Regions from separate parts of the Homo sapiens genome. Here all the other regions are linked to region 2. Evidence: promoter capture Hi-C in human tissues and cell types (Jung and others, 2019). All regions are on one chromosome and are shown on one strand. Each heading gives the region's core, a stretch centred on a gene start or on the middle of the fragment in contact. The rest is flanking DNA. Distances are from core to core; before and after follow the strand shown. Region 1 holds the start of ZNF214 (zinc finger protein 214). Region 2 holds the start of TRIM22 (tripartite motif containing 22). Region 3 overlaps PPFIBP2 (PPFIB scaffold protein 2). Region 4 has its middle 3.1 kb from the start of OR51D1.

Evidence for each region. Contacts are between HindIII fragments. The study calls those that stand out against the background at their distance.
Region 1: the fragment with the promoter of ZNF214 here is called in contact with the fragment with the promoter of TRIM22 in region 2 in 1 of the 25 tissues and cell types used here (small bowel).
Region 3: a fragment that was not itself captured here is called in contact with the fragment with the promoter of TRIM22 in region 2 in 1 of the 25 tissues and cell types used here (pancreas).
Region 4: a fragment that was not itself captured here is called in contact with the fragment with the promoter of TRIM22 in region 2 in 1 of the 25 tissues and cell types used here (small bowel).

What each region holds. Positions count from the first base shown.
Region 1 is chr11:7,017,540-7,022,195 of GRCh38, forward strand. It overlaps ZNF214 (zinc finger protein 214), which reads right to left and starts at 2,807. Exons shown (of 3, transcript NM_013249.4): 1 at 2,534-2,807. It overlaps NLRP14 (NLR family pyrin domain containing 14), which reads left to right and starts at 2,940. Exons shown (of 12, transcript NM_176822.4): 1 at 2,940-3,231. The HindIII fragment of the contact is 7,176 bases long and covers 1-4,598 here.
Region 2 is chr11:5,687,049-5,692,257 of GRCh38, forward strand. TRIM22 (tripartite motif containing 22) reads left to right here and starts at 2,742. Exons shown (of 8, transcript NM_006074.5): 1 at 2,742-2,851. LOC124902620 (a long non-coding RNA gene) reads right to left here. Exons shown (of 2, transcript XR_007062561.1): 1 at 3,630-5,209; 2 at 3,179-3,248. RefSeq lists enhancers at 2,422-3,414, 2,536-2,875, 2,847-4,046, 3,462-3,561. The HindIII fragment of the contact is 9,408 bases long and covers 1-4,968 here.
Region 3 is chr11:7,517,683-7,522,702 of GRCh38, forward strand. The region is part of intron 1 of PPFIBP2 (PPFIB scaffold protein 2); the gene reads left to right. The region is part of intron 1 of LOC124902806 (leucine-rich repeat extensin-like protein 5); the gene reads right to left. Among named protein-coding and RNA genes, the nearest start is that of PPFIBP2, 6.2 kb to the left of the region's middle. RefSeq lists enhancers at 2,385-2,514, 2,595-2,704, 2,735-2,784, 3,525-3,574, 3,645-3,824 and a silencer at 3,902-4,102. The HindIII fragment of the contact is 3,522 bases long and covers 1,382-4,903 here.
Region 4 is chr11:4,631,907-4,636,778 of GRCh38, forward strand. No RefSeq gene overlaps it. Among named protein-coding and RNA genes, the nearest start is that of OR51D1, 3.1 kb to the right of the region's middle. The HindIII fragment of the contact is 5,020 bases long and covers 1-3,909 here.

The DNA of each region.
Region 1 (4,656 bases), core at 1,557-4,056, 1.3 Mb after region 2:
CAGCCTGGGCAACACGGTGAAACCCCATCTCTACTAAAAATACAAAAAAATTAGCTGGGCATGGTGGCGTGCACCTGTAGTCCCAGCTATTCGGGAGGCTGAGGCACGAGAATTGCTTGAACCAGGGAGGCTGAGGTTGCAGTGAGCCGAGATTATGCCACTGCACTCCAGTCTGGGCGACAGAGCGAGACTCCGTCTCAAAAAAAAAAAAAGCAAACTTAAATAAAGCATACTATATACCTAGAATGGAACACTATACAGTCATTAAAACTCATGCTACCAAAACATGCTTGGAAAAATGCTCATTATATGTTAAGTGAAAAACGTATACAAATAACAGCTATTCATACATTGAATAAATATTTACTGAGTGCTTAGTATACGCACAGTACACTTCTATATACTGGGAACATTTCCTTCCCTCATGGAGACTATTTGTCATGAGTCAAATTTTTTAATTTAATGTTTTATATATACTAATCTTTTTATATACGTGTGTGCATATACCTAAGTTTATATTTGTACATGTGTATGAACATGTATACATACATATCAGTATTTGTACAGACTAGTGAGTACATATATACAATAAGTATTAAATAAAAGACTACAAGTAAATACACCCAAAGGTCAACAATGGCTGTCAATATGGTTCATGTGAAGAGATGCACAAGAATAAATAACAAATTTAAACATTAATTGCCTTCCACAATGTGGCTTTATACATTCATGTTTCACTTCCCTGTCACTAGCCTGGTTTCCTTATTTGTTCCCTCAAATTGTACCTGAGAGTAAATGATGGCTTTCCTATTTAGAATATCTTCCTACTCATAATTGTTCAAATCTGAGTTTCTGTTGCTGTGTTTTAAGTGCCACTCATTCTGGCACTGTTTAATGTCGATAACTTCAGAAATTATTATTAATCTCATATAGTTTATTACCCCCAATGTTAAGACTTTTTTTTTTTTTTTTTTTTTTTTGAGAGGGAGTCTTCCTCTGTTGCCCAGGTTGGAGTGCAGTGGTGCCATCCTGGCTCACTGCAACTTCAGCCTCCCGGGTTCAAGCAATTCTCCTGCTTCAGCCTCCTGAGTAGCTGGGATTACAGGTGCCTGCCACAATGCCTGGCTAATTTTTGTATTTATAGTAAAGACGAGGTTTCACCATGTGGGCCAGGCTGGTCTCAAACTCCTGACCTCAAGTGATCCGCCCACCTTGGCCTCTCAAAGTGCTGGGATTACAGGCGTGAGCCACCGCGCCTGGCGATGACATTCTTATAATTCTTTATCTCAGAACACCAAGAACAGCATGAATTATACACTAGACTTGAGTGACTGAATGAATGAATGAGTAAATGTTGGGAAAAGACACTGGGTTGGGGCAGGGTCAAGTCTGCACGCTCGAAAATTTCACAGGCAAGCGAGGAACGTTTTCTGTCCAGTCATCCATCCATCCTCATTGCCACCTCCACCACCCATGGAGAATGCAGGGACATTTTGTAAATGAGAAAAGACAATCATCCTCACTTGGGATCAGACTATGAGGGAAACAGTGTACATTCCTTCCTCCTTTGTGTTCCTCTTCTGGGGAAGGGTAGAGTGCTGAGACGGCTGAGCTGAGGAGGAAGGCAGACTGAAAACCTGGGTATGGCTTTAAATTCCCAAATTCATTAAATTTCCCATATACTAACTGGGTATGACGCACACATCTCCTAGCAAGAGGTCCAAAAGAAGCCTATGAATGCTCTTGTTTCCTTTCAACGACCAGAAAGGAGAGCTATGAACACTGGCACCTTGAAATTTATTTCCAACCCTCTAGAAACTTCAAAAGATACAACTCACTTATTTATTGAGATTATTATTACTACTAACAATAATAGGAAAGCACCAGCACACTTAAATAGTATCTATTCTCAAGGTATTTTTCTTATTTTGTTCAGTTTAAGTAGAAAATCATTCCATTGTCCTCCCCTACTTGCTAAACAGGAATACTGGATTTACTATCAGAAAAGTACCTGGAGTCTTAGAGAAGTATCCCAGAACTGGAGCTCCCAGGTCCTGATCAAAGTCTCAACTGTGCCATCAAGCACTTGTAGAACTTTAAAGAGGACCAAACTTATAGATCTCCAAGATCTCAGTTTCCTTACCTGTAAAATGGGGGCATGAGCCTTTGCCACCCCAGTCCTTCCTTGCTGATCAAAGGTAGGTTCCTGGGCAAAGTAATAAGCAATTAGTTAACCCTCTTTCTCTAGGGAAAAAACGTTTCATGCGTGCCCCAAGAGCAGGACAGGTTTGGGCTCCCCCAACGCGTCACGGGCTGCCCAAGTGTAAGCACCAGAGAACCAGACACACGAACGGTTCTCTAGGAGCGGGATCTCCCGGTCTCCGCCACAGACCCGGGGGTCCCCTGCTCCTGCACTGAAGACGCGCGCGGCCTCCGTTGCTTATCCAGATCCCCGGCCAGAACTCTGCCCCGGCACCGAACACCGGGCACCCATACCCCGGGGCCCAAGCTGCTTCTGCCCTCCTCTACTTGCCTTTATTAAGTCTTAACGTGGGAGAGAAGCCGTGATGTACCCATCTACACGGGTGTCTCTGGGGTTTCTAAACCGGAGTAGCTTCTCAGTCCCTGACCCTCGATTTTCTGCCCCTCTTCCTTCAAGCACAGCTCGTCTTGCCCTGTCCGCTTCTGGCTCAGTCCTCCTGAGAGTTCATGTCACTTAACGGAGCCTGTGAGAGTGGACCGGGATGGCCAAAACACTCAGTCCACACAAACAATGGCCGCAGCCCGGCTGGACCGAAACGGAAGTCCCAGGTCTTGGAGTAGACACTCGCAGTGTTTCCATGGATACGGGAGGGGCGGGGCGGGAAGAGAGAGCGCGGGAAAACGTGACTCCTGATTGGCCAGAAGTATCCCGCGCCTCCCGACCTTTGGCCGCTGGCATTCCTGCGCGGGCGGGAGCTGCGGGCGCTCGGGGGATAAGGCGAGGACGCACCAGCATTAATGGAATAGGAGAACTCCCGAAGCTTTTAGGGCCCTGGGAAAGGGGGCGTGGCTGGAAACGGAGCTACTGGCTTCGGAGAATTCTGTGACCCTCACCACCGCGACGACCCCGAGGAAACGCTGTCAGGTCGCCTTTGGTTGGCAAGGCGTGGTTGTCCTCGCTGTCCCGCGCCTTGGCGGAATGGGCACCTCACTAGCCCTGGCACTAGCTAGCATCGCTCTAAACTCAAGGTTAGAGGTTTTCAAATTCCGTCCTATTGTTGCCAGACACCCTCTTCGTTCCTGGTCCAGTGAGGCTTTCCTCCCTCCCGCCTTCTTGCCAAATCCCAGGCTCCTCTGGAGACTCCAGGCAGAGAAGGGAAACGCACAGTGGAGCTGAAATGAAGCCATGAGAAGGAGCCCCTCCTCAGTGTCCTGGGACCACAGAGAGTTGCAAGAGCCTGTTCTATTATTTAGCTGAGTGTGTTATATTAGGAAAATACTTTCGCATCTTTGGGCCCTGTCCTTCAAACTTGGGCTGGATCAGTAATATTCAAACATTTTATTAGGCAAGGAACTTTTGGTAGGATAGTCATTACAAGCAAGGGACTCCTTGGATTCAAATCTGACAACACCACTTACGAGATCTTGGCTGGATTACCTAACCTTTAAGCATCAGCTTAATAGGCGTAATATTGATAGCCAATAATAATAGTAACTATGTAACAGACTTGTTAGATTGAAATGAGTTAGTGTAGTTAAAATGCTTAAACCAGCCCCTTGCACATAGGAAGTAGTCTTGTGAACTATATATTTACAGTTTGGTGTTTAGCAGGGGTGGGTGGCCCAGCGCCTATCTGCTTGAGTTCACCACACAATAAGCTCTTGCATTTTTTATGACTCTGGAGACCACATTTTGAAAATTACTGGGCGTGGGCCTTCCCTGGTTTGAACATTCAGAGAGCATAGCATAGCATTTTAAAAATGTGGGCTTTGTTGTCTGACGGAACTGACATTAAGAGCTGTCAATCATTGTTATCCACTAGGTGGTGGTAAGCAAGTTGTTTAACCGCTCACCCTTAAGTATTTTCACCTGTAAATTGCAATGTATTTATTTATTTATTTTTTATTATACTGTAAGTTTTAGGGTACATGTGCACAACGTCCAGGTCAGGTTTGTTACCTATGTATACATGTGCCATGTTGGTGTGCTGCACCCATTAAATCTGTCTCTGCATTCAGTAATTCAACTATCAATTGCGGCTATTTAAATACATTAAAAAGCAATGTATTTAAATAGCCGCAATTGATAGTTGAATTACTGAATGCAGAGACATTGACCGGTAAGAACGAACACTGGAAGTGGGCTGTTCTGCCACACTGCTTCCAACCTGAGAATATTACCTGAACCTCATTGAACTAACCAAAATTAAAAGAAAAAAAAAAAGCTAAGAGGATCCAGTTTTCAGAGAAACAAAATGTGTATCTGAAGGAATATACCTGCTAAAGGGCAGAGGCCAATATGAATAACAAAGAGCACCAAGTATAGCATACGCAAGACTTTTAGGAATGAATTCTACCCAGTTACAGTTTGGGGTTTAGCAGGGGTGCCCGGCCTAGAGCCTATCTGCCTCCGTCCACCACACAGTGAGCATCTGCATTTTTTATGACTCTGGA
Region 2 (5,209 bases), core at 1,492-3,991:
AACGATTTTTTAAAATATCCTCTCTGTTTTCTTCCTAAGTATTATTCAGACTCTAACCATATTTACTCTTATTTTGCTCTTTTTCTTGAAGAGAAAAATGTTAAATATCCATGGACCCAAAGGTAGAGATATTTCATTTGATTCCTTTTCAAGCAGGAAAGCAGGATATATAAGGTTTACAGGCTGGGCGCGGTGGCTCACGCCTGTAATCCCAGCACTTTGGGAGGCCAAGGTGGGTGGATCATGAGGTCAGGAGATTGAGACCATCCTGGCTAACAAGGTGAAACCCCGTCTCTACTAAAAATACAAAAAATTAGCCAGGCGCGGTGGCGGGCGCCTGTAGTCCCAGCTACTCGGGAGGCTGAGGCAGGAGAATGGCGTGAACCCGGGAAGCGGAGCTTGCAGTGAGCCGAGATCGCACCACTGCAGTCCGCAGTCCGGCCTGGGCGACAGAGCGAGACTCCGTCTCAAAAAAAAAAAAAAAAAAAAGGGTTTACAGAGAAAACACAGAGCTCCAACAATAATATATTTTTTCTACAATTTAGAACATAGGTTAGAATATGGAGCCTGCCAACATGCTCTACTCTGGTGATAAACTGTGTGTGGTGCATTCAGTTTTTCTATTGGCCCACGTTTTCTGGTATCTTGTCAGGACCTAATATTACTACTGTTTTCTCTCAGCTGCAATTAATACTTCATGAGATAAATCAGACCAGGATGAAAGTTCACTTCAGATGTTCAAAGCCAGACGAGAATAAAAGGATGGCTATGAGATCTATGGAAGTGCTGAGAAGGGAAGAAATAATGGACAGAGAACAGGTCTCTGGATAAATGAGTTCATTCACTTTGTCCATTGTGGTTGACACTCGGACTCCACTCTGTGCACTCCAGAAAAAACACATTCACTCACTGAGCGCTCACTCCCCTACAAATGTCAACAAGATATTCTATTCAAACATGGAATATACCTAAAATTACATCTCTTGCTTATTTATCTTCAAGAAGAAATAAGAAAATTTCACGCCTGTCTTAGTCAAGGTTCATCATAGCAATAGAACCACTAAACTATGAATTTATTTGGAAAGAAACTTGAGAAATGTCTCAGGTGATTCTGGAGACTGGCAAATCCAAAGTCTGCAAGGTAGGCCAAGAGGCTCTGGATCCAAGAAGGAGTCAACGTTATAGCTCACGCCTGAGGTTTGCCTGCTGGTAATATTCCCTCTTCTCGGGGAGAAGTCAGTTTTTTCTTCTATTCTGGCTTTCAGCTGATTGAATAAGGTCCTCATAGATATAAGTGAGTAGGAAAGAATTTATAGCCAGGATTAGCTTATTATTCTGTGAGCAACAAATAATACCAAAATATCTATTATTGAAATAATAAACATTGATTTCTCAGTCATCCTACATGTGTATCATTGATTAAAGTATGAAGATGGCCATGCTCCATAGTGTCAGTCAGGGATCCATGTTATGGAAGCTCCATGAGTTGCCTTTTTTTTTCTTTTTTTTTGGGTGTGTGTGTGTATGTGTTGTGTGGTGTTTGTTTGTTTGTTTTTTGTAGAGACAGGGTCTTACTATGTCACCCAGGCTGCAGTGCTATGGTGCAATGACGCAATCTTGGCTCAATGCAACCTCCACCTCCTGGGCTCAAGCCATCCTCCCATCTCAGTTTCCTGAGTAGCTGGGACTACAGGTGCACATCACCACACCCAGCTATTTTTTTTTTTTTAATTTTTCTTAGAGATGGGATTTCACCATGTTGCCCAGGCTGGTGTTGAAGTCCTGGACTCAAGTGATCCACCCACCTGGGCCTCCCAGAGTGCTGGGATTACAGGCATGAGACACCACAGGCCTCCATCAGTTTTTGATGGCATTATCTGGCACATGCAGTTAAACAAGAATACAATAGACAACAGGGTACAGAAGTATGTGCATGACGTATAACATGTTTCAGTGCTGCTTTTTAATTGATTGTGTAAAAATGACCAAACTTTTCTTAGAGAAGCAGGGAAAAGTGGAAAAATTATGAAGGCATGAGAGTAACTCAATGAATGATTATAATTAAACAGCATCATCTGTTAACTTCCATGTTCTCACCTGCCTCAGTGGCTGGGTAACATGACACTGACACAGTTTTACCTCTATTACTCTCTGGAATCCATCCTCATCTGGTCTGTCTGGATTAGGAGCAGGAAGTGATAATTAATTGATGGACTCTTAAGATTTAATGACATTTTGAGAACATTTTTTTCAATGGGCTCACACTAAAGATCCTTTTATTTATAAAAATAATTTTTTTACCATTCACAATGTCAGCTGCTAATACTCATCTTGTCAGCCCAAATTTGTAGAGCTTTATAACTGAGTATCTTCCTCGTCAGACTGCATTTCAAGAAGCTAGGTCCCAAGTCTCTGGATCTTTATTTTCCTGGCTTAGGTCTTAAATATAAGATAAATTCGACTAATAATTATAGGACTGCATTGGAATTCTAAGTATTCAGGCAAGCTGTATAACTGTAATTCACATTCTTTTTATTCAAATATTCTTGCTTGAGTAAACCACAGTAAGAATAAGGAAGTAGTGACTGAGTGCCTTGCCAGTACAGCAGATGCTAGAACATAATGTAGCATTACTTTCCCCAGGGTTTATTGTTATGTAAGTTCTTGTTCAGCTTCCTTTGTTTTCTTTCACTTCTGAGAATTTAACTTTCGTTTCTCACTCAGCTCCTGTGGGGAAACTCATTTGTGGAGACCAGCCCTCTGGCTTGGTGAGTGAATCTGGTTTACACCGGCTCCTGCCCTGCCTTCACTCTTCTCCCCTGATTCAAGACTCCTCTGCTTTGGACTGAAGGTGAGTGGAGCAATCTGTGGGAGCATAGAATGGGAGGCTTTGAGAAGAATAGATTGATTGTGTCTGGGTGAGTTTAATTTGTAGTTCTGAAGCTGCTCTGCATAAACAAAAAGAGGCAGCTTGTGAACTGTCTGCTGAGATGGCAGAGGAAGAAAGCACTGAGTCTGGGAGAGGGGTAACCTTTAAAGAAGAGAGGTTTGCAAAAGCAAAAAGCCTTGCTTGTTTCCTAGAGGGACCATTCATTTCTTCAATCTAGGTACCTCCATCACCTTCCTTGTTGGAAATAAAGCTCAGAATCTTAAGGGAGACGAGCACTCAAACAAAGGATTTCTCAGCAAAGCAATTTTATTTCTGTGCAGAGGGGTGCTTCTTCTTTGCCAGTCGCCATGAGAGCACACTAGAACAAAGGAGGAAGAAAGTTTTTATTCCTGACGCAAATCCTACCCCTTTGCCCTTTCCCCATTGGCTGGAGTCGGCCACACAATCTAAACTAGACTCAGTTGGCTAAACATTTTAACTTTCTTTAGATAAGGTGGGCACGTGAGGGAGAGAGGGGAGATGGGGAAGGGGTGTGTGTGATGAGCTAGATAACTAATCTTCTTCCAAAATAAGGAAAGGAATGTGAGTTGGTACTGATAACGCCTGGTACTGTGACATGTCTAGGCATGTAGCAAAAGCAGAAAGGAAAGAGAAGAGAAGAAAAGTGAAGTGGGGAGGGGCACTGTGAATTAAAGAATAAAGGATTGATCAGGCTATTTGAAGAGAAACCTTATCATACCCCACATTCCTATTCTGTCATTTTGATTTTTCCATTTTGCCAACGTGGATCAGAATTTTCTTTTATTCAGAGGCAGCAAATTCCTTCCTCCTTTCTCCCGAAGAAGCCTGTGCAATGAAGCTTTGTTTTCACTTTTCATAAAGCAACCTCATGATGAGGTTCAGCAGGGATGAGAGCCCTTATCTGGATCTGGGTATGAGGCGAAGGAGTCTTAGGTACTCAGTCTTCAGAAGTAAGGCCCTTTTGAAGGTTATCCTTTTACTTGCCTTCTGGTAACTTTTTGGATGCTGTCCATAGCTTTCCTGATAAATTAGCAGCCCTCTGGTTAGTCCGAGGAGAGAGGCCGCAGGACGGGCAGACTGCTGCTCATCTCTGCAGCTCCACTTTGGTCTCTTGTCTCTGAAGGTCCAGTCACAGGGAACTTGTTCTTCTGAGTACCCACAGCTTACTCTTCCTTTGTAGCAGGACCAGCCACAGAAAAAACTCCTCAGACACCGAGGTAAAGAAGGAAGGGGTTTATTCGGCCAGGGGCATAGGCAAGACTCCTGTCTCAAGAGCCGAGCTCCTCGAGTGAGCAATTCCTGTCCCTTTTAAGGGCTCACAACTCTAAGGGGGTCCGCGTGAGAGGGTCGTGATCGATTGAGCAAGCAGGGGGTACGTGACTGGGGGCTGCATACACCGGTAATTAGATCGGAACAAAACAGAGTAGGGATTTTCACAGTGCTTTTCTATACAATGTCTGGAATCTATAGATAACAAACCAATTAGGTCAGGGGTCCATCTTTAACTACCAGGTCCAGGGTGTGGCCCCGGGCTGTCTGCTTGTGGATTTCATTTCTGCCTTTTAGTTTTTACTTTTTCTTTCTTTGGAGGCAGAAATTGGGCATAAGACAATATGAGAGGTGGTCTCCTCCCTCAACTTCTGTAGCACCCAATGAACCTCTGGTATCCACTCCTGTTTTAGAAGTTGCTATTATTCTAGGTACACCTTTTCATCATGAGTTACCTCAACTCCCTACTCAATTTTCCCTTGCACAGAGCTAAGGCAAGGAGTTGGTAATTTCTCCTGAGTCTTATCTCGATCTTATCGCTGAGCATTTTGTACCTTGATGCCTATGTCACCCATATTCTGATGTGTCCTTTTCTTTGTTTCACTTTTCAGAGGTCCAGGTAACTGTCTCCTTATGTGTCTGTACCGCACATCTTGTCAAGGTCCATATCTAGTATTTATTCATTGTCAAGTCTAGTACAGGACCCAATAAATAAAACTGTACTTTTAATTTTTGAAAAATATTTTTGACTAAATTCACAAAACAAAAGCATACAGGTATAGTAAAAAAACAAAAACAAAAACAAAAAAACTATCTATTCGATATATAATCAACATTAAATACCGGTAAGAGATTATGCTCTGGACTAGGGAAAAGGAAGTAAACACGCAGTCAAAAAAAGGAAGTAAACCAGCAGTTTTAATGTAGCAAAAAGGTAGCAGTTACTAGAGGATAAATGTAAAACCAATAAAACAAAAGCAACAAACTAAAAGGGCTGCAATAGGATGTGGTATCTGTAGTGCTCTTGTC
Region 3 (5,020 bases), core at 1,893-4,392, 1.8 Mb after region 2:
TTAGGAGGACTGGGTGGGTCCTGAAAAATTAGGTAAAGCAGAGTAGGTCACCCATGTTGATTAAAACCATCAGGGTTACCCTTGGCTCGGATGAAGTGATGGTAGTTGCCGGGGCATCCATTCCAGGGCACCATCAGTCTTCAGCGGCAAGGCAAATGAGATCCGAGTAGGAGGTTTTGGCCTGCTCAGGAAGGGATGGGGGGCGGTCCCTGCAGGGGCCGCTCATAGTCCGACTTCCAGTGGGGTCCTCCGCAGAGGGGGCACGGCCTGGTGGGCTTACCTGGGTATGGGCATTGTCTGGACCAGTGGCTTTCATTGCCGTACTTGAAACAGGCGCCAGGTGGAGGTGGATTGCTAGGAGGCTTCTGTGTGGAGCTGTGGCCCCGTGGGCCTGCAGGGCCCCTGATGGCGGAGGCAGGCATTTGAAACTCTGCCTGTTTTTGCCTTTTACTTTCCTCATCATGATTGTTAAAGACTTTGAAGGCTAAATTAAGAAGGTCTTGTTGTGGGGTTTGAGGGCCGTCGTCAAGCTTCTGAAGCTTGCACCGAATATCGGGAATGGATTGGGAGATGAACCGAAGGTTTAAGATAGTGGTTCCTTCTGGGTTGGCTGGGTCTAGGTTGGTATATTTTCTCATGGCTTCAGTTACATGAGAGAGAAAAAGGGCTGGGTTTTTGTCAGGACTTTGGGTGATTTCTGGAAGTTTTTCATAGTTTACCACTTTATGGGCACCCTTTTTGAGTTCTGCAAGGAAACACATAATCGTGTGGTCTCGATGGCAGCATCTAGAGGCCCTGTCTTGATAATCTCAGTGGGAGTCCTGGTTGGGGACTGCCTCTGCACCAGTAGGCTTGGCAGGAGCTTGTTGATGAATTGTGTCAGCATGCACCTGAGCTAGGGTCCAGACACAGTCCTGGTCTTCTGGGGTGAGGGTGGAAGAGGGGATAACGTAGAGGTCATGCCAAGTTAGTTCATAAGACTGGGTAAGGTACTGAAACTCCCTGATATAAGAGGTAGGGTCGTCTGGAAATGAACCGAGTCTTTTGTTAATTTGAGAGAGATCAGTGAGGGAGAAGGGAACATGAACTCTTAACAATACCTTCAGCTCTTGCTACTTCCCAAAGGGGACACTCTAGCACTGGCGCTGAAGTGAGGGTGGGGCATGAGCCAAAGATGGCGCTCGAGCGAGTATGGGCGGGAGAGAAGGAAGAAGTCAGAAGTCGTTCCTGCTGAGGGTTTGAAGGGGAAAGGGGGTTTGAGTTGATAAGCAGTGGAGGACAGATAGGGGCGTAAGGTGGCGGGATGGGTTTACAGGCTTCAGGAGAGGGCAGTGAGGAAGGAGAATGAGTACAGGCAGTGCTAGAGTTGTCCTCAGGAGAGGACAGTGTAGGAAAAGAAGTGGGTACTGCTGACTGGGAAGATGGTGGCTGGGAAGATGGCAGCTGAGAAGATGGCGACTGGGAAGATGGCAGCTGAGAAGATTGCGGCTGAGAAGATAAAGAGGAGGCTTGCGGGGTTAAAGAAGATGGTTGAGAGGGAGAGGTAGAGTCTGGGAGGAATGGACAGCAGTCTGCTGGATCTAACGGGGAAAAAGAGGTATGGTCGGGAGGAGAAAGGCGATCAGGGCTGCGAGAATGGAGGAGAAGGATTTGAACAGGTGAGCAAGAATTGCAGAGGTCGGGTTGTGATCTGAGTGCCAAAAGGCCTGGAAATAAGGAATTTCTTCCTATTTCTTCGGTCGTTGGCAATACTTGCTTAAATCAGTTAAAACTGTAAAGTCGAATGTTTCATTTGCCGGCCATTTGGACCGTTATCTAATTTGTACTGTGGCCAGACTGAATTGCAAAAAAAGAAAAGGCGCTTAGGGCGGATATCTTGCCTGAGGCCTAAGGTTTGCAGGTTTTTTATGAGGCAGCCTAGAGGGCTGTTTTTTAGAATGGAGGGCCGGGAGTTTCCCATAATGAAGGGTAGGCACAGGAGAACAGGGAAAAAGGAGACAGTCCTGGACAGCCGGACGGAGACGATAAAAGGAGCGATCGTCACCACTGCCTTTTTCATTCCTGGAACGGGATCAAATGGCTTAGAGGTGTCCCCCTAAGACCAGATGATCAGCGAGTGCCTGGCACACGCTGGAGCCTTTTTGGACCAACGTTGGATTTTCGGACCAGAGAAACCAAAAGAGGCCGAGCACGTTTTTCCCTGTTAACCAGGTTCCCGGGGAAGCTTACCAGTAGGTGAGATCAGTGACTGATCTGCATGCACAGAGAGGCGACTGGAGGCTAAGGAGCTTCCTTTGTCCAGCTGCTGTGGCCTGCTTTCCAGCATAGAGGGGTAGGTCCACGGGGGACACAGACCCGAGCCTCTCCCAGGTTTCGGCACCAGATGAAAAGTTCTTGTATTGGTTCAAACCCTGAGAGCGCTCCAACAGACAACACGAGGCGGTATGGCGCAACATGCTGTTTTAATGAGCGCCTGGGTGCAGGCAGGCTGAGGCCTAAAATGGCATCAGCACCAAATGAGGACAGGGCAGGGGTTTTACAGTCTCCTGTAAACAAGAAGTGTCTCAGTTTGAGGTAGCTGCTACGTGGTACCCAGACGGCCTCCCTTTTGGTTTTCAGGGGGTACGTGTCTTCCGGTTGGGGTGGGTATTTTCCGGCTGGCTCTTTTCCTGCTTTTGCTGTTTTGCCGACGCACGCTGCTAGCACAACTGGCCTTGCACCTTGGGACTGGGCCTGAGAAGAGAGGAGTTACTCATCTCTTCAACCTTTCAGACCCCAGGGAGAATTTTTCAGTTTAGAAGTGGTTTTTTACTTGGCCATAAGATTTTTTTTTTTTTTTTCCTGAAATGCAAATCTGTTCATGATGCTGTCGTGTTTGAAATCCTCTGGTGGATATCCTAATGCAAAATATAAGAAGGAAGCACTAATATAAACACAACTGATAACACTTGTTCCATTCTACAGCCTGTTCATCCCCATTCAAGATGTGACATTCAGTCCCCATTTGGTGTGGGCACAACTAGGCTGAAACTTTTGGCAGCTTTGTTTATTCCTGAGTCACTATTTTCCCTGCGTCCTTCTTCTTCAGAGGAGCTCCACCTCCCTTGGACTTTATGTTTCTTAGTATCATTTTTTGGTTCCAATGCTTGATGGCACCTATGTGTCTCTGTCTTCATGGAATCTATGTAGTTCTAGGAAAGGTGGGCTTTATCCTTTATACACCCTTAAAGCCAAGTCTTGTTTGACTGTGGATCTTCACAAGCTTCATTCTTATCTCTCACTCATCTGGTAAATAAGCCTCTAAAAGAGGCTGTCCTAGAATAATCTGTTTAGCTTTAGGCCCAGATCTCCTTAGTGCCTCAAGTTCCAGGGGACTGCTGACTCCGAGCTTTGTCTTCAGCAAATGTATGATTTCTGTTTGCCTTAAGGTCGTTGGCTTGGTTCTCCCTGGTTATTCTTACTTTCACTTCCTCTCTCTGTCATGTTCATATGTACACATTTATGCACACTGAAAGCTGAGCATTCATTGTGCTTGATGCTTTTAATCACCCTGTTCTATGTTGCATAGTAATCATGATCCCTAACATACCTGTAGATGGGAGGCCTAGACACAGAAGGAATAGGACTGTCTCTCTGATAGGATAAAATACACCATCCTTGTATGGCATTCAAATCTCTACAGTGGTGGGCCCTACTTTAGCTCTCCAGCTGCCTCTCCACTGTTCCCCAAACTGAGAAGCTGAGTAATTTCTATTCTTTTGTGCCTATCTGCATTTGCATACACTATTTTATCTTCCTGGAAAGCCCTTTTGTCTCTATTCTGCAAGATTATTAATCCTTCAGGATATAGATCAAATTCTTAAAGCTCCCTTGCCCCTAAGTCGTTTTTACTCTTCTGTTACATACATATCACATCAAACAAAGATCTGCTATGCTATTTCATCACTTTATGTCTATGTCTCTGTCCATATTCCTCCAAACTCTGAGCTGCTTTAGGGCTGTATCAGCTCTTGTGCGTGGCCCCACACTTAGCAGATGTCCAGGAGGAGTCTGTGGTAGATATGGGCCTTAAGCTGGCTGGCTTTGCAATGTTTACCTCAGTAAAGAGGGAAAGGGGCTGGTTATTTCGTATGGTAGACGAGAGAAGGAAGAGGAGCAGAAGCTGAAAGACTGGGAGGAAGGACAGGCCCAGTGAAGAGTGGGCCCATATGGCTAGAGTCAGGGGGTTGGGTGGACACTGGGAGAGGTGAAGATGGAGTCCCAGGCTGGGAAGAGATCATGGAAGGCCTTGAAAGTTGGAGCTATATAATTTAAATTTTATTCTGATGACATTAAAGTTTCCATACTCAAGTATGGAAAAGACGTGGTAAAACTGTTCAGGATGATTGTGGCTGGGAAGGGCAGGTTGGAGGGACAGGGAGGAACTTCTTATGAGCACAGGCTGTTAGAATAACCCACTGAGGTAGCTCAGGACCTAAATCAAGGCAATGGCAGTAGGAATAGAGAGAAGGGAGCAGAGGCAAGTGACCATGCCAAGAAATCCGGCAGGATTTGGTGACTGATTGTATTTGAGGGAAAGAGAAAAGCGTCAAACTGGATACTGACGTGTGTTAGTTTGCTGGGAGAAGAATGAGGCAACTGTTAGTAGCATGAAAGCATGGAGGAACTTAGTGGAAGGGGGAAGGGAAATGAAAGTGGTTGATTCTTTTGGAATCAGAAGGGAGCCTCGGGTAGTTTCTTGCTTGCCCTTTATATGTTTACCCATAAGAGGATGGTGAAGCCCAGAGAAACCTACCCAAGATCACTTAGCTCTTGATTGTAGAACCCAGGTCTACTGGCATTATGGCCTGGGCTTCTATCTTCTGTAGCACATGAGTTTAGCCAGAGGAGAGCTGCCAGAAGGTCGAGATGGAGATTCCATTAGGCAATGAAAAATGGGAATGAGACCAGGTTTGGGGTGAATTCAGCCTGCAGAACAGCTAAGGCTGGAGTCTTATAGGTCAAGCACCCAGATGGGAAA
Region 4 (4,872 bases), core at 150-2,649, 1.1 Mb before region 2:
CTAGCCATATGCAGAAAACTGAAACTGGACCCCTTCTTTACACCTTATACAAAAATTAACTCAAGATGGATTAAAGACTTAAATGTAAAACCCCAAACCATAAAAACCCTAGAAGAAAACCTAGGCAATACCATTCCAGACATAGGCATGGGCGAAGACTTCATGACTAAAACACAAAAGGCAATGGCAACAAAAGCCAAAATTGACAAATGGGATCTAATTAAACTAAAGAGCTTCTGCACAGCAAAAGAAACTATCATTACAGTGAACAGGCAACCTACAGAATAAGAGAAAATTTTTACAATCTATCCATTTGACAAAGTCTAATATCCAGAATCTACAAGGAACTTAAACAAATTTACAAGAAAAAACAACCCCATCAAAAAGTGGACAAAAGATATGAATGGACACTTTTCAAAAGAAGGCATTTATGTGGCCAATAAACATATGAAAAAAAGCTCATCATCTCTGGTCATTAGAGAAATGCAAATCAAGACCACAATGAGATACCATCTCACACCAGTTAGAATGGTGATCATTAAAAAGTCAGGAAACAACAGATGCTGGAGAGCATGTGGAACACTTTTACACTGTTGATGGGAGTGTAAATTAGTTTAACCATTGTAGAAGACAGTGTGGCCATTCCTTAAGGATCTAGAACCAGAAATACCATTTGACCCAGCAATCTCATTACTGGGTATATACCCAAAGGATTATAAATCATTCTACTATAAAGACACATGCACATGTATGTTTATTGCAGTGCTGTTCACAATAGCAAACACTTGGAACCAACCCAAGTGCCCATCAATGATAGACTGGATAAAGAAAATATGGCACATGTACACCATGGAATACTATGCAGCCATAAAAAAGAATGAGTTCATGTCCTTTGCAGGGACATGGATGAAGCTGGAATCCATCATTCTCAGCAAACTAACATAGGAACAGAAAACCAAACACTGCATATTCTCACTCATAAGTGGCAGTTGATCAATGGGAACACATGGACACAGGGAGGGGAACATCATTCACCCGGGCATGTCAGTGGGCGAGGGGCAAGGGGAGGGAAAACATTAGGACAAATACCTAATGCATGTGGGACTTAAAATCTGGATAATGGTTGATAGATGCAGCAAGCCACCATGGCACATGTATACCTATGTAACAAACCTGCATGTTCTGCACATGTATCCCAAAACTTAAAATTTAATAAAAAAAAACTACTAAACTATTTTCCGGAGTAGTTGTGCCATTTTACATTCTCGCCTGCAATGCATTAGAGGTTGTTTCTCTGCATCTTCACTAGCATTTGGAGATATGCCATGCTCACTTATTTATAAAATAAAAGATCTATTTCTAGATAATTCCTAATGAAATTTATAAACTGCAAGTGAAAAAAAAAACTATCTGGCATGCATCTAGACAGATATACCTACAGAGGAAAGCTAAATCATACTGGCTGGCATGTAAGCTCCACAAAAGCAGGAGAGTTTGTCTGTTCTGTTCATTAAAGTGTTTCCATCACTTAGAAGAGTACCTGTCATATATTAGGCACTCAATAAATATTCATGGATGAATTAACTGCATTAAGAAGTCAATCTTTACTTGAGGTCATAAAAATATTCTTTTATATTACTTCAGGAAGGCTAATTGCTTTGCCTTTTGTACTTATATATGAAAACCACAAAGATTTAATTCTTATAAGTAGTGTGAATTTAGGGTTCAAATTTTATTTTCTTCTATATGGATATTCAGTTATTGTAGTATCATTTAATAAAAAAATTCTCCTTTTCTGATTGCCTCACAGAATTACCTTTGTCATTTAACAACTGGCTGTGTATGAGTGGGCATACTTCTGAAATTTTATTTCCATTCATTGGCTCAACTGTCTATCCCTGAACAAATACCACATATGCATAATTACTATAGTTTTTAAATTTTTGATATTTAGTATATAAAATCTCACTTTGTCCTATTCTTCTAGAGTTTTGTGGCTAATTTTGGCAATTTACATTTTTATGTATATTTTAATCAAGCTTACCAAATTTTACACAATCACCAATTAGGATATTATTGGGAATGTATTGATTCTATGGAAAAATTTGGGGGCTAAGTAGATTCTTCACATTATCGAGTTTTCCAGTTAAAAAGAATAGTGTTTTCTTCCATTTATTTAGGTCTTCTTCAGTGTCTTTTAAGGATGCTTTGTGGTTTTCTGTGCAGAAATTCCTCTACATTCTTTGTTAGATTCACTCTTAGACATCTGATTTTTCTGTTATTGTAAATGCTTAAAAATTTTATAAAGAAATACAGTGGAATTTTGTAAGTTGACCTTGTATTCAGCAATCTTTACATACTCATTTCTAATAACTTATCAATACAGTCTTTTGGATTTTCTACATATACAATCACTAATCTACAAATAATGACTAATTTCATTTTCTAACTCTCATATCATGTTTCTTTTTCTTGCTTTATAACAGGTTATTAACACAAGGAATCATTTTTATCTTTAGGTACCATTACACTCTTTCTTTTCATGGGAGGTTGTAGGGATTTGTGTGTGACACACATATCATTATCTCGTAACAAAAAACAATGGCATTGGTCATCTAAAAATGAAATTTGGATACTAAAGAAACAAGAAAACATCTTACAGGAAAGACCTTCTTATAGAAATAGCACCTAAAACAGAATCTAAATAAATGTTAGTTTTTAGAGGAGGGAAACAAAGAGGTTGACCATTCCAGATAAAACAAGCATTTGAGCAAATGCTTAGAAGAAGGTGTACAGATAGAGAACTTTATTTAAGGAACTAGAAAGATGCCAATGCAGGGCCGTATTGAGGGAGAGTTGAGGTGTCATGAGATGGGGCTGTCGAATTAGGCAAGTTCATATCTTTTAGGACCTCCTAAGCCATGAGTATATGTTTGGCCAAAGCTCTCCGTTATCCATTGGACCTTTAGCATTCCATTTACATTGAGTGATTTTTCCTCCCTTCTTTCCTTCAAAAAATATTGAAATATAAGTAGAGGGAAAACTATTATTTTTAAAGTCATACTTTGGGTCACCTTAATAAGATCTATTCTTAATACTGTAAAAAGAGAAAAAAAAATGAATGCTTGAAAAGTGCCTGTGGAAATTACGCCAACTAGGTACATAATGTTATTAATATTAATAATAATTTAAGCGGCCTGCCCATTAAACATGCCTCAGTTGAAGTCATAGAGTTGTGAGGTATGAGTGCAGATCAACAAGACCAATAATTTCTGCCTTAAGAGTGGATAGAAGAGGACTCTGTTCACGTTTCCTTTTATACATACACATTAGTGTCCACCCTCCCTACAAAGATACGAAGATATGTTCATAAGTATGAAAAATAATATCACAACGTTAAATGCTATCAGTAAAACAAAGAGAAAAAGGGTAAAGAGGTCCCGCCAAGATTAGGGGTCAAGAAAAGTCTTTCTAAGCAAGGGTGTTTAAACAGAAAAGGCTAAGAATTAAAACTGGGAATAGGATGAGTGTTTTTACCAGGGGAAAAATATATGTGAAGGCTGAAGGGTGAGAGAGAGCATGGCACATTGAAGATGTGGAAATATTTCGGGTCCAATAGGACTTATGTATGCAAAAAGGGAGGTAAAATGGTTGGAGATGGAGATGGAGAGTTGCACTGAGATGGCTTATGGAGTTCCTATGAGTTGGGTTCAGGAGTGTGTTCATTCTACAGGCAATGGGGAATTCAACTGTTCATTCTAAAGGCAATGGAGAATTGCCATGAACTGATATGTGTTTGGAAGATCACACTGGCCACAGCATAGACAACAGATTGGTAGGGAAGTTCTTCTGTGAGTCTGACCAGTGAACAAGTTATTCTGATGATCTAGGCAAAAGACTGTCTTGGCTTGGAATGAAGAAAAGGCAAAAAAGATGGAGAAAGATAATCAGACTCACAAAATAGATATCTAGTAGATAAAATGAACAGAACTTGGTGACTGATTGGATGTGGTTGGAGAGGAAGGTGAGAGAGAGATGGGGAGAAGGCAGGGATGATGATTTCTAAATTTTTGACATGGCCAACAGAGTGATTTATATGACAGGGAACATAAAACAGACAGGGAGCGGGGTCCGGATTGAAGAGCAGAGATGATGAGCTTAGTTGATAATGAAATCAATGAGCTTAGAAATGATGAGTTAGGTGTTGAGTTTGAGGTGCCTGAAGGACACCTATGTCCAATAGACTTTACCATATTTGGAGTTTAGGAGATTGGTCTGGCCTGCTTGGGTGATGAAAGCTACTGGACAAAGTAAGATTACTCATAGTTACTATATAGAGGGGGAAGACAGATTATCTTCCTGGGCCATAGCTACCAGTAATGTGAGGAGTAAAGGACAAGGAGTCTCTCTGCCAACTCCATCCTGTTGACATTTAGTCTCTTCTAGTTCCAAAATACACATTTTAAAATCTCTGTGGAGCTATAAATCCTCCCAATATTGTCCATTTCACTCCTCTGTTCACGTACAAATATCTTAAAAGGGTTGTCTACATCGACTCTCTTCATCTCTTCCTAACACACTCCTCACACTGCTTCACTCAAGATTCCATCCCCCACCCTGTTATCCAGGTAGCCAGTGACCTTTGATTTCAGTCTTTTCACTGCTTGATCTCTCGGCAGCTTTCTGAACTGCTGACCAATCTTCCTTGTCAATATATTTTTTCCTGTCTCTTTTGTGGCACTGTCTACTGGATTTCCTACGTCCTTGGCTCTTCCATTTGTTTTGACTAGTAATAATGAACACAAACATTCACTGGAGACTTGCTAGTATCTCATTTCGTTTTTCACATTAAATGCTTTCACACTAAATGCT